4 separate regions of the Homo sapiens genome follow, and regions 1, 2 and 3 are each linked to region 4. The links are contacts of gene promoters, found by promoter capture Hi-C in blood cells and fetal thymus (Javierre and others, 2016). All regions are on one chromosome and are shown on one strand. Each heading gives the region's core, a stretch centred on a gene start or on the middle of the fragment in contact. The rest is flanking DNA. Distances are from core to core; before and after follow the strand shown. Region 1 has its middle 68 kb from the start of LINC01738. Region 2 overlaps LINC01738 (long intergenic non-protein coding RNA 1738). Region 3 has its middle 30 kb from the start of LINC01738. Region 4 holds the start of FOXD2 (forkhead box D2).

What was found. Contacts are between HindIII fragments. The CHiCAGO score rates a contact against its expected background, and 5 or more counts as called.
Region 1: a fragment that was not itself captured here is called in contact with the fragment with the promoter of FOXD2 in region 4 in 3 of 17 cell types (fetal thymus, total CD4 T cells and megakaryocytes); the score reaches 6.5 in fetal thymus.
Region 2: a fragment that was not itself captured here is called in contact with the fragment with the promoter of FOXD2 in region 4 in 11 of 17 cell types (M2 macrophages, naive CD8 T cells, M1 macrophages and 8 more); the score reaches 10.6 in M2 macrophages.
Region 3: a contact is called between a fragment that was not itself captured here and the fragment with the promoter of FOXD2 in region 4, in 16 of 17 cell types (M2 macrophages, endothelial precursors, megakaryocytes and 13 more). The highest score is 22.1, in M2 macrophages.

The regions. Positions count from the first base shown.
Region 1 is chr1:47,754,752-47,757,451 of GRCh38, reverse strand. No RefSeq gene overlaps it. Among named protein-coding and RNA genes, the nearest start is that of LINC01738, 68 kb to the right of the region's middle. The HindIII fragment of the contact is 655 bases long and covers 1,089-1,743 here.
Region 2 is chr1:47,698,866-47,701,565 of GRCh38, reverse strand. The region is part of intron 2 of LINC01738 (long intergenic non-protein coding RNA 1738); the gene reads right to left. Among named protein-coding and RNA genes, the nearest start is that of LINC01738, 12 kb to the right of the region's middle. The HindIII fragment of the contact is 1,743 bases long and covers 513-2,255 here.
Region 3 is chr1:47,716,955-47,719,654 of GRCh38, reverse strand. No RefSeq gene overlaps it. Among named protein-coding and RNA genes, the nearest start is that of LINC01738, 30 kb to the right of the region's middle. The HindIII fragment of the contact is 2,620 bases long and covers 45-2,664 here.
Region 4 is chr1:47,436,782-47,439,481 of GRCh38, reverse strand. It overlaps FOXD2 (forkhead box D2), which reads right to left and starts at 1,438. Exons shown (of 1, transcript NM_004474.4): 1 at 1-1,438. The coding sequence starts at 1,346. LINC01389 (long intergenic non-protein coding RNA 1389) reads left to right here and starts at 2,165. Exons shown (of 5, transcript NR_126355.1): 1 at 2,165-2,192. RefSeq lists an enhancer at 1-20 and silencers at 1,209-1,388, 1,419-2,318. The HindIII fragment of the contact is 12,776 bases long and covers 1-2,700 here.

The sequences.
Region 1 (2,700 bases), core at 167-2,666, 320 kb before region 4:
TGCAGCAGAGGGAGCACCCTGGCCTAGCCAGCAGGACAGAATGAAGGCTGGGATGGGCTGGGCTTGGAGGGGAGGAGGTAGGGGCTCCAGCTGCTGCTCATAGCAGCCGCCAGCCAGGGGAGCTGGGCTGGCCACTGTTACGGTATCGCAAAATGAAATTATTTTCAGAAAATATTCGTAAAATCTTGTTTCATATCAGTTGGTTCTGGGCTTGCAAAACAGTTCCTGGTTTGTTTTGTTGTTGTTGTTTTGTTTTTTCTTAGTTTTCATTTCTTCCTCCCTGATCAGCCACAAAAAAACAGTGATAAAATTCCCAACCTGAAGACACAAGTTCCCAGGCAAGGAAGGGTTGGGGACTTGCAGGTCCCCAGACATCCCTTCCCAGTGTTCCCTCACCTCTGCTGCCCTGAGACCCAAGAGGGGGACAAGGGGGCTGAGCAGGATGGTGACCAAGGGTGGGGACGAAGAGTGAAGGAGAAGATAAGCAAAAGAGACAAAAACACATAGAAAGATGGATGGAGAGAGAGTGAAGACACAGTAGGAGACAGCAACAGAGAAGCAGAGAGAGGCAGAGAGAAAGGGGGAGAATGAAAGGGAGTCATCGGAAGAAGCCTGGATGGGGAGGCAGAAAAACACAGACGAGCATGGGTGGAAACAGAGAGAGGCAGGACTGGCTGGAGTCAGAACACAGCAGGGTCTCAGCAAGAGGGAGGAGGCCTGGTTCAGATCCACAGCACAGGCTGGGGCCTGGCTTGAGGGGCCAAGACAGACGGGCCACTGGAGACAGCTCCTGGGTCCAGCAGTCTTCCTGCTCCCGGGGAGACCTGAAAACACAGATTGCTTCCAGGGCCAGCCAGTCTCCCCGCATTCAGCCTCTCACCCTTCACCCCGTCCCAGAGGTTGTCCCGGCTCAGTCGGGGTCTTGGGCTTATGGTCAGGGGGAGCCAGAGTCCTGGACCTGCTTTTGCGCCAGGTAGTCCCTCCCTTCTCTCAGCCTCGTTTTTCTCATCTCTATGGTGAGTTTAATAAAACTAATTCTGGCACAGGCTGCAGTGAGGTTTTAATGAGATGGTGGATGTAAGAAAGCTTTGGAAACCAAGGCCCAGAGCACGTGTTAGCTGTTACTGCCACCCCCACAGGCAGCAGAGACCAGCAGCACAGGTGGAGGGCTGGCCTCAGAGTGCCCAGGCTCCAAGTGGCAGCAGAGGGGATACTCTCTGGAGCTGGTGGAATCAGGCTTTAGAGGCTGTGACTCACAGGTCAAGGCATGAGGACACCACCCGGTGGGCAGCAGGAGCCCCAGGCAGCTTAAGAACAGAGGAGTGGCATAGAGGTCGAGGAAAAGCCTGATGCCCTGGGGCCATCTCCTCCTCCCATTGAATCTCAGTTTTCCCATCAATAAAATGGGAGAGGATAGCCTCACCCCACAGAGATACCGTGAGGATTTAGGATAAGGCAGGTTTGCCTGTGCTCGTAGACTCCAAGAGCTTTGTGGTGGTGATGATGATGAAGATGAGGGAGGACGGTATTTCCTGAGCCCCACCTCCCCCTATGCCCCTTGCCCGATCCCAGGGACAGAATGACCCATGAAGTCATGTGGTCCCAGGGACTTTCCTCAGTGATGGTGGGTGGTCATGGGAGGGCACTGGAAGCACTACTGGGAGTCCCCTGGGAAGGGACTGACTCTGCTGAGTTGCCCACCCCTCTGCTCTGGAGCCATACCCAAAGACAGACACTGAAGCTTGGGCCAACCTCTGCTTGGACTTGGAAGGTGGTACTGGTAGGGGGATTGGACTTGGAAGGTGCTACTGTCTCTCCTGCCATCCAGCAGCTGCCACCAGGGGGCAGTGCTACTCAGGTCGTGACCTCAGGCTCTAAACAGGTGACCTGACGGAACAAGGCAGGAAAGTGGGAGCTGGAGGGGACATGATTCTTCTGTGGGCTCAGGCCCCTCACTGAACAGATAAGGGGAACACCAAGAGATGGACCCACCCAAGGCCTCTTGGCATGTGCGAGTCGGAGGCCAACCCAGGAGTCCAGACTCCCAGGCCCCCCTTCTGGCCTCAGCACACTGGCTCACCTAGATACAGAGAACTGGCCCAAAGAGTCCAGTTCACCTTGGGTCCAAAAGCCTTCCACATCCCAAACCTGAGCCTGCAGGGTGCCAGGCCCAACTAGAGAAATGCAGAGCCTGCAGCTCGGTGGGGGAGGCAGACACTGAGTAGCATCCATCAAGTATGTGATGGTTACCATAGTACTGGGGACCTTCCTCAAGAAGTTAAAATTAATATGGAATGTGCATTTGCTTCCTCTCCCCCTCCCTTCCCCTCCCAGCAGTGCTCCCTCACAGGCCCTCTACAGTTTGCCCAACGAATCTCTCCAGACATGTGTCTCCTCCCCTCCCCTAAAACCATGCTCCAGCCATAGAGAGCTACTCGGGCTCCCTGAACGTATCTGCAATTTCCCAACTCCATCTCCATCCCCACTGTCCCTTCCACAGCTAGCTGCTCATTCCCCCTATTTTCACCTGAAAACTTCTTTCCTGGTATTCAAGGCCTCACTTAATTTGTGCTTCCTCGTAGAAGCGTGCTCTGGTCCCCCGGGCTCACACTTCCACCTCTCCTGAAGCCCCAGCCTTTGTATGCATCCAGTCTTAGATGATGGGTTTCGTATGGCTTATCACCCTTAGAATATGATAAA
Region 2 (2,700 bases), core at 135-2,634, 260 kb before region 4:
GGAGAAACAGATCATGGGAGAAACAGATCATAAACTAATAAGAAAAACATACAGTGTTAGATAAGGATAAGTGCTATAAAGAAACATCAAAGCAAGGGAATGGGATATCAAAGGAAGGGGTCAGTGACAAAATTATGGATACAGTAGCCACAGAAGGCCTCGCTAATAGGGTAACTTCTGAGAGAAGACTGGAAGGAAGCAAGAGTGAGCCCTGCAGACATCTAGAGGGAGCATCCCAGGCAAAGGGAATTAGGAGCACCAAGGCTCCAAGGCAGGAGCGTGCCCAGCATGTGCCAGGAGAGGGTAGGGCCTGTGGGGCTGGAGGGGGCACAAAGGGAGAGGATTAGGAGAACTCAGAGGGGGACGAAAGGAGCTAAGTCAAAATGGGCCTTGTCTGTCTCAGGCTCCTGGAGGTCAGGACTCTGGTGTTGGGGCCTTGGGCAGGCCCTTCCCTCTCCAGCTGATTTCTCCCAGTGGAGGATACGTGTGGTGTGGATATGATTGTGAAAGCTTTGAGGATTATGCCATGTGCTGAGCAAAACTCAGACCCTGTGGCCAGGTGGGGTGGCTCACTCCTGTAATCCCAGCACTTTGGGAGGCCGAGATGGGTGGATCACCTGAGGTCAGGAGTTCAAGATCAGCCTGGCCAACATGGTGAAACCCCATCTCTACTAAAAATACAAAAATTAGCAGGGCGTGGTGGCGCATGCCTGTAATCCCAGCTATTTAAGAGGCTGAGGCAATAGAATCGCTTGAACCCAGGAGATGGAGGTTGCAGTGAGCCGAGGTTGCAGTGAGCCGAAATTGCACCACTGCACTCCAGCCTGGTGACAGAGCGAGACTCCATCTCAAAAAAAAAAAAAAAAAAAAAAAGCAGCCAGGCATGGTGGTGTGCGTCTGTAGTCCCAGCCACTCAGGAGGCTAAGGCAGGAGAATTGCTTGAACCCAGGAGGCGGAGGTTGCAGTGAGCCGAGATCACACCACTGCACTCCAGCCTGGGCAACAGAGTGAGACTGTCTCAAAAAAAAAGAAAAATCCAGCCCTGCAGGCCCTGAGATTCTCCAGGTTAAAGTCACAAACACCCACCCTTTCTGAGACTAAAGTTTGGGAGATGCTAAGATGGTAGCAGTGCTGCCAACCTCAGGATGCAGAGGGCCTTACCTCTCCCCACCCACCTGCTGCTCCTGCACCCTGGGAAACAAAAGAGGGGCTGACTTCAGGCCACAGTGGCCTAGTGGCCTCTAGGCCTTGTGTCCACAAATACTGTGTCACACGGCTTGGGGTCTTTTCCTTCACAATGAATTCATCTTCATCCATCATTCCATTAATTATTCTCCCCAGTATTCTTTTATTCATGTACATATTCATTTCCTCCCTCATTCTATTTGTTTACTCCTTTCTTCACTCATACACATATTCATTTTCCTCCCTCCTCAAACTTATCACAAGAGTAACTAAATACATCATAGATTGTGCAACTCCCAGTGTCTGCCTGACTTCTCAGCTACAATGTGAAAGATGAGGGCAGGAAGCATGTCTTCTTCACAGCTGTGATACCAGCATCTGGCCCCATGCAGAGCCCATAGCATGTGCTCTATAAATGGATTTCTACAGCCATCCATTCACTGCACGTGCATTCATTCTTTAGGCATTCCTCAAACCTCCGTGTGTACCAAAACCTGGGCCAGACACATTTCAGAAGAGGGAGAAGCAAGAAGAAAATATAGGATAAATTATCCCAGCCCCTGTCATCCACCATTCCATTCATCCATCCAATAAACGTTTACCAATGACACTTAGTACTGAATCCTGAGCCGGCAACTGCTTATGCAACTGCTTGCATAAGGATGATCAAGGGAAGGCTGAGGTTGAGCCGCAGCTGGGCCTCAGAGAATGGGCAAAATGTCAGGAGGAAATGTAGCCAGGGGAGAGGGAATGGCAGGAACAGAGGTTTCCATGAACATCACCCTGCCTGGTGGTTAGGGTACAACTGCTATCAAGATAGCTTGGGGCAAATCATGGAGGCATTTAATTGTCAGGCATGAGAGTTTCCTGGGCTCCAGAGGAACTTGATCTCGGCCTGTCATTTCCAGGTGTGAGAAGGCAGGTGAGGCAGGCAGCGCTGAAGGTTTCAGGTTGGTTGCTCCTGGGCAGAGTATGATTTCCTGTTTGCCTAGAGAGGAAGAAAAGGCCTTCGAAAGACAGTGAAGGTTCTCCAACAGGCCACACAAGCTCAAAATGGCTCAGACAAAGCTTTGTGATGACTTTAATGCAAATGAACTAAAAGTATATGGATTAAATTTTCCTCCCTAAAATACATGAGCTGTGGAAACAGAAAGGTGTGTATTTAAATGTAGGCCCCTTGAGCTCTCTCTAAGCCTGTCTTAGCGCAATGATACACCATGGACGCGGTTAACTCTGCAGGTGCCACAGTTCCACCCAACAGCTTTGGACCTAATCAAGGATAAAGGGGTCTCAGCCCTCTAATGCTGCAGCTCCCCTCCCCAAATCTTCTGGGCCCTGGCAGGTCCTGGCAGAGATCCTGGGCCCACTCTTGGCCTCTTTGACCAGGAAAAATTTGCTCCCGGGCTTAGGTCTTCAAAAAACACCAGCTCTTTCTGGCTAGCCAGGAAGGAGAGTAAACACCAAATAATAACAAAACAATAGGTATAATTTTAATATTTATTCTTTCACATGTAA
Region 3 (2,700 bases), core at 105-2,604, 280 kb before region 4:
GTGGAACATAGCACATCACCCCTTGTACCTGCAAGCACAAAGCTTGTGGCCCCTCAGAGCCTGTCTGCCCAACAGAAGACCAAGGACTCCACGATTCTAACGCCAGCTAAACCCAGAGCTCATTCCCAATGGTAGCCTCAGCATCTAGCCAGGACCTGGCACCAGAGGGGCTCAATTAATATTTGTTGAGTGACTACGTAAATGAATTTCCAACTCTTTGTAGAACATCTATGAGGGCGGTCATGAGATAAGTTGGTGAAAGTAAATGGGAAAGACCGAGGTGAGTAAACATGAAAGATTCATTTAGTTATTAATACAAATATTTCTCTCTGTCATTTTTGTCTATTGGCCTCCCTTCTTTTCCAATACAAACATTTATTAGGCATCTACCATGGAACAGGCCTGTGTGGGCTCCACAGATGCAGGGATAGACAATGTTAAGACATTTCTCAACATTCCTTTAGCCCTTACTGTGTGACTGACACTAATCCAAGCATTTTACATGGGTTTTCTCACTTAATACTCATAACAACCTGAAGAAGTAGAAACTTTTATTATTGTTCCATTTTACATGTTAGGAAACAAGAGACAAAGAAATTAAATAACTTAGTCAAACTAACTGAGAAAGTGGTGGAGCCCAGAATCATATGCAGACACTCAAATTTCAGAGCCAAGTGGGGAAAAATCTTCAGCCCTGCGTACCTCACTAGCTGATTGAATCAGGTGTGAGGGGGGGTTAAGTAAGGCAAGGGAGGGCCTTAGATGACATACATAGCATGGTATTTAGCAAAGAGAGAGCTCTTTCTAAATGTGACTATTGTGAACCCTATTTTTATTGTGAAAGTATTACCATGAAAGCAATAATTTTGTTATCCACACTTTCTCTCTTTTCTTTGGTATCTAATGAGCTTTTTTTAAAGGCCCTTAGAGGGTAGCTAAGGCACTGACTAAAGAGGGAACTGAGGCCCAGAAAAGGGCAGGAATCTGCCTCTTCCCAGGCCGCCAAGGCTAGAAGCATCAGTCTACTGGTAAATTTAACACCAGCTCTCTAGAGAAGAGAAAGCCTGATTTGCAGTCTTTGCCAGTTTCTATGGTGTGTTCTCACCATGGCAGATTTCAAACTGAAGTGAGATCACTTGATAGTGCAGTTGAATAGAGGCACTTACGGTCAGCTCTGGCCAGTGGGTGCAAACAAGCTCTGCACACCACGGACCAGAACCTAGGCTTTCTGACAAGCCTGGAGACCTTTACAGGATACCACCAAATCCAACGGCCCCAAGGGTCCATGTAGATGAGGAGTGGGGCTATGAGGATAGGAGGAAAAGGAGAGGGACAAAATGCTGAACCCCGAAGAGCTCTGAAAAGTTCAATAGGTCTTCCTTCTCCACACACTCAAGATTGCTTGTTCTATGCTCTCTCTGATAACTTGTAAAGTTTAGACTTGGGGAGAAGAAAGGGAAATGGCTTGGTTCCTGATACCCTCCTAGATTGAGCAGGATGTGGCAGTATGAGCTCAGTCCTGCCTGCTTTGCAGTTCCTGAAAGAAGAAGCCGTGGCTGGGGTCACCTGCTCCCTGGGTCCAGAAAGGGAGATCAGGTGATTTCATTTCCAGAGTACAGCATGTATTTCTCAATTTAACTTTGGGTCATTTTCACCGCTTATTTCCTTCCTCCTGGTCTCATAGTGTGTCCAGTGACTAATCCAAGACCCAGACTCTGACATAGGCTTAGAGATCTGTGATGTTGGGCACTCTACCAAGTACCCCTCTTCATCAGCATGGCCTCAATTCCACTAGTAGCTCTCCCTCTAGGTCAAGTCAGTGATGTGCTATTAAAATTGTCCGACTATTAATGATGGTAGTGAAAAAAATAACTGCACTTACTCTAACATCTTTAAACTGACTACTTAATATTAGCTTATTGCTATCCCAAACAAGTAAAAGAAACATTTAAGCCCCTACTATGTGTCAGACATGCAATGTGCATTATATTTAATTTTCCAAGCAAACTGACCAGGAAAGTTATCATCCTCATATTTTATTGATGAATAAAGCTCTTCCTAGAAGGGTTATGTAACTTGGCTGAAGTCACATGGCTAGTAGGTGACTGAGCCAGGATTGGAACCCAGGTGTATTTGTGTTCAATACTGTATTCTTTCCCTATTCTGTGATGATTCATCTCTTAGGTTGATTAGGAAAAAAAAAAAATCAAGATAATTCTGAGAGAGTGAACACAGGCTAGGCATATTAGTTTTCTATTGCTATGAAACAAATTACCATAAATTTAGCAACTTATAGCAGTACCTATTTACTATGGTATAATTGTGTAGCCCAGAAATCCGGGTGGGCTTATGTGAGTCTTCTGCCCTGGGTCTCACAGGCTAAAATCAAGGTGTTAGCCATCTGGGGTCTTATGGGAAGGCTCTGGGAAAAATGCCCTTCCAAGCTCAATCAGGATGTTGGCAAAATCCAGTTCTTTGCAGTTGTAGACTGAAGTCCCTGGTTCCTTGCTAGCCATCAGCTCCTTAAGGCCATTCATTTTCCTTCTCACATGGTCCTCTCCATTTTCAAAGCCAGCAATGATGCAGCAAGTTATTCTCATACTTCAAATATCTCCAAGATCTCCTTCTTCTGACTTCCTTTTCTGCTGTTGGCTAAAGAAAGCTTGCTGCTTTTAAGGGCTCATCTGATTCCACTGGGAC
Region 4 (2,700 bases), core at 189-2,688:
GCTTGGCCCCCAGGACCCGCGGCTGCCGCGAATGGCGGTCCCGGAGAGCCCTCGCCGGCGCCCGGGGGTGCTGCCCCGCCGCCACCGTGGCCCATGATGTGGTCTATAGAGAAGGAAGGCCTCTGCCCTGCCCCGGCGCCCCCGCCGCCTGCACCACCGCCCGCGTCCGTCTTGAGGCCCTGGCGCAGAAGTGCGGTGGGCAGACCCGCCGCGGTGCCGGCTGCGGGAGGACTCAGGGACGCCGCGTAGAAGGCTTTGGCGCAGCCCAGCTCCGCGCCCAGGAAGGCGGGCAGGCCTGCGGGGCCCGGGCCCGGGCCCGAGCCTGAGGCAGGCGCAGGAGCTGGGGCCGATCCCGCGCCTGCGAACACCGAGGCCGTCGGAGGTCCGGGTGGAGGCGCGGCGGCGCGGCCTGGGGGTACCGACAGCTGGCAAGGAGCGGCGGCGGCTGCCGCGGCGAAAGCGAAGGCGTGCGGGTGCGGGTGCGGATGCGGGGCCGGCCCCGGCGGGGGTGCGCCGTAGGCCGGGAGAGCCAGCCCGTAGCCGTAGCCGTAGGCGCCGTAGGCAGCGAAGCCGGGCAGGAAAGCGCCGGGATCCCCCGCCGCCGCGGCCCCGCCACGCAGCAGCAGCTCCGGGTGAGGGTGCGGGTGTGGGTGCGGCGGCGGCAGGGGCTGCCGCTTGAAGCGCTTGCGACGCCGCAGGAAGCTGCCGTTGTCGAACATGTCGGCCGACTCCGGGTCCAGCGTCCAGTAGTTGCCCTTGCCCGGGTTGCCCGGCTCGCGGGGGATCTTGACGAAGCAGTCGTTGAGAGAGAGGTTGTGGCGGATGCTGTTCTGCCAGGCGGGGAACTTCTCCCGGTAGTAGGGGAAGCGGCCGCTGATGAACTCGCAGATCTCGCTCAACGTCAGCCGCTTCTTGGGGCTCTGCAGGATGGCCATGGTGATGAGCGCGATGTACGAGTAGGGCGGCTTCACCAGCGGGCTCCGCGTCGCCGCGCCCCCCGACGGCGGTCCCGGCCCGGGCCCCGCTGCGCCGCGGGCCGCCGCGGCGCCTGGCCCCGGGCTCCCCGCTGCGGCCGCCGCCCCCCGGGACGCCAGAGCGCGGGGCTCGCCGTCCGAGCAGCCACCAGACTCCTCCTCGTCCTCGGCTAAGTCTGCCTCGGCTTCCTCCGCGGGAGGCTCGTGGCCGTGGGGGAGCACGTCCCGGGGGGCGCGGGGCCCGGAGCGAGCTGGGAGCTCCCCCCCGCCGCTGCCGCCGCCCACCACGTCTATGTCTGCGTCGGCCTCGGACAGCGCGGCCGGGGAGCTCTCGGAGGACATGATCTCGCAGCAGCAGCTGCCCAGGGTCATGGTGCCGCTGCCGCCGCCGCCGCCACTCTCCGGCTCCGCTCCGGCAGCGGCTCGGGCTCGGCCGCGCTGCCTCTGGGGCGAGTGCGTTTTGCGCGCGGGCGGGGAGGGGGCGGGGGACTGAGGCAGGCAGGGAGGGGTGTCCCCCGGCTCCGCAGCGCCCCCTGGCGGCCCAGCTCGGCCGCGCTCACCTTCCAGGGCACGACCCGCCGGCGGCCCCCGCCACTACCCCGGGAATCCGAGCTGGGACCCGCCGCTGGGGCGCAACGGAAGGAGCTGAGGCTTTCCCTTACCTGGGCGGGCCTCAGCCCCTAGTCCCCTCGGGGTGGCAGTGGTTGGTGGTGGGGGATTGTCCCTCCCGCCTAGCGGCTGCCTAAGGCGGAAGAGCTGCGGGCTAGGGCGGAGCTCCCTGGGCGGGGTGGGGCGAGGCGACAGGGGCGGGCGTAGCGCCTCCGCTGAGGGACCCGGCGGGAACAAACCGCCGCCGCGGCGGGAGCTGGGCTCGAGTGGCCGGAGGCGGGCCCTTGTCTTCGCCGCCGCTCCTGCACCCTGTGCTCCCTGAAGCCGCCGCCTTCAGAACGCTCAGCCCCTGGATGTTAAGGCTCACTCGGGCGCCAGCCGCAGCCAGGGAAGTGGCGGCGGTCCCCACCCGTCCTCTCCCCAAGGCGGCGCCCGGGCCACCGGGCCGAAGCGCAGTGGGAGCGCGAGGCTGAGACGCCGGGACCCACGCCGCCCCAGCGCGGCCCGCCGGCGCCCACCCGAGCCCGCACGGCTTCCAGCCCGAGGGGAGACGCATTCGAGTGATCACCAGGAGCGAACTTGGCGCCCGCAGCCTTGGGCCTGGGAGAGGTGAGATTGCGGCGGCGCCCTCTCCTCCCTCCGCTGTCGGGCCCGCCACCCCTCTCCGCGCGGAGAGGCCGGGCAGAGCGCCGGCCGCTGTGGCCGCGTTCCCGGGGCGCGGGCCGGTCTACTGCTCCGAGTTTGCCTGTTCTCCGACCCTCTGGATCTCGGCATCCGTTTGTCTCAGTCTCTGTGACTATCTCACTCTCCGTGAGTCTCTGTGGAAACGGCATTTGTCTGGATGTCTGTTCATGGGTCTGGGAATCCGCTTAATTTCTCCCTCCCCTCTCCCTGGCCCCAGTTGCCCTGAGGACTGGACACCCCCCACCTTCCTGGCTCCCAGGGTTCTGGGCCCCACCGACAGGCGGCAGGACCTCCTCCGCCCCCTGCCCGACACCCCCTCAGTGAACCCTGACCTCCACCAAGTGTTGCCTTCATCTCTCAAAAGTCTTGTGCAACTAAGGTTGGCCCTGTGCCTTGTTTCTCGCTAGCCGGGTTCCTGCCCATCCTATTAGAC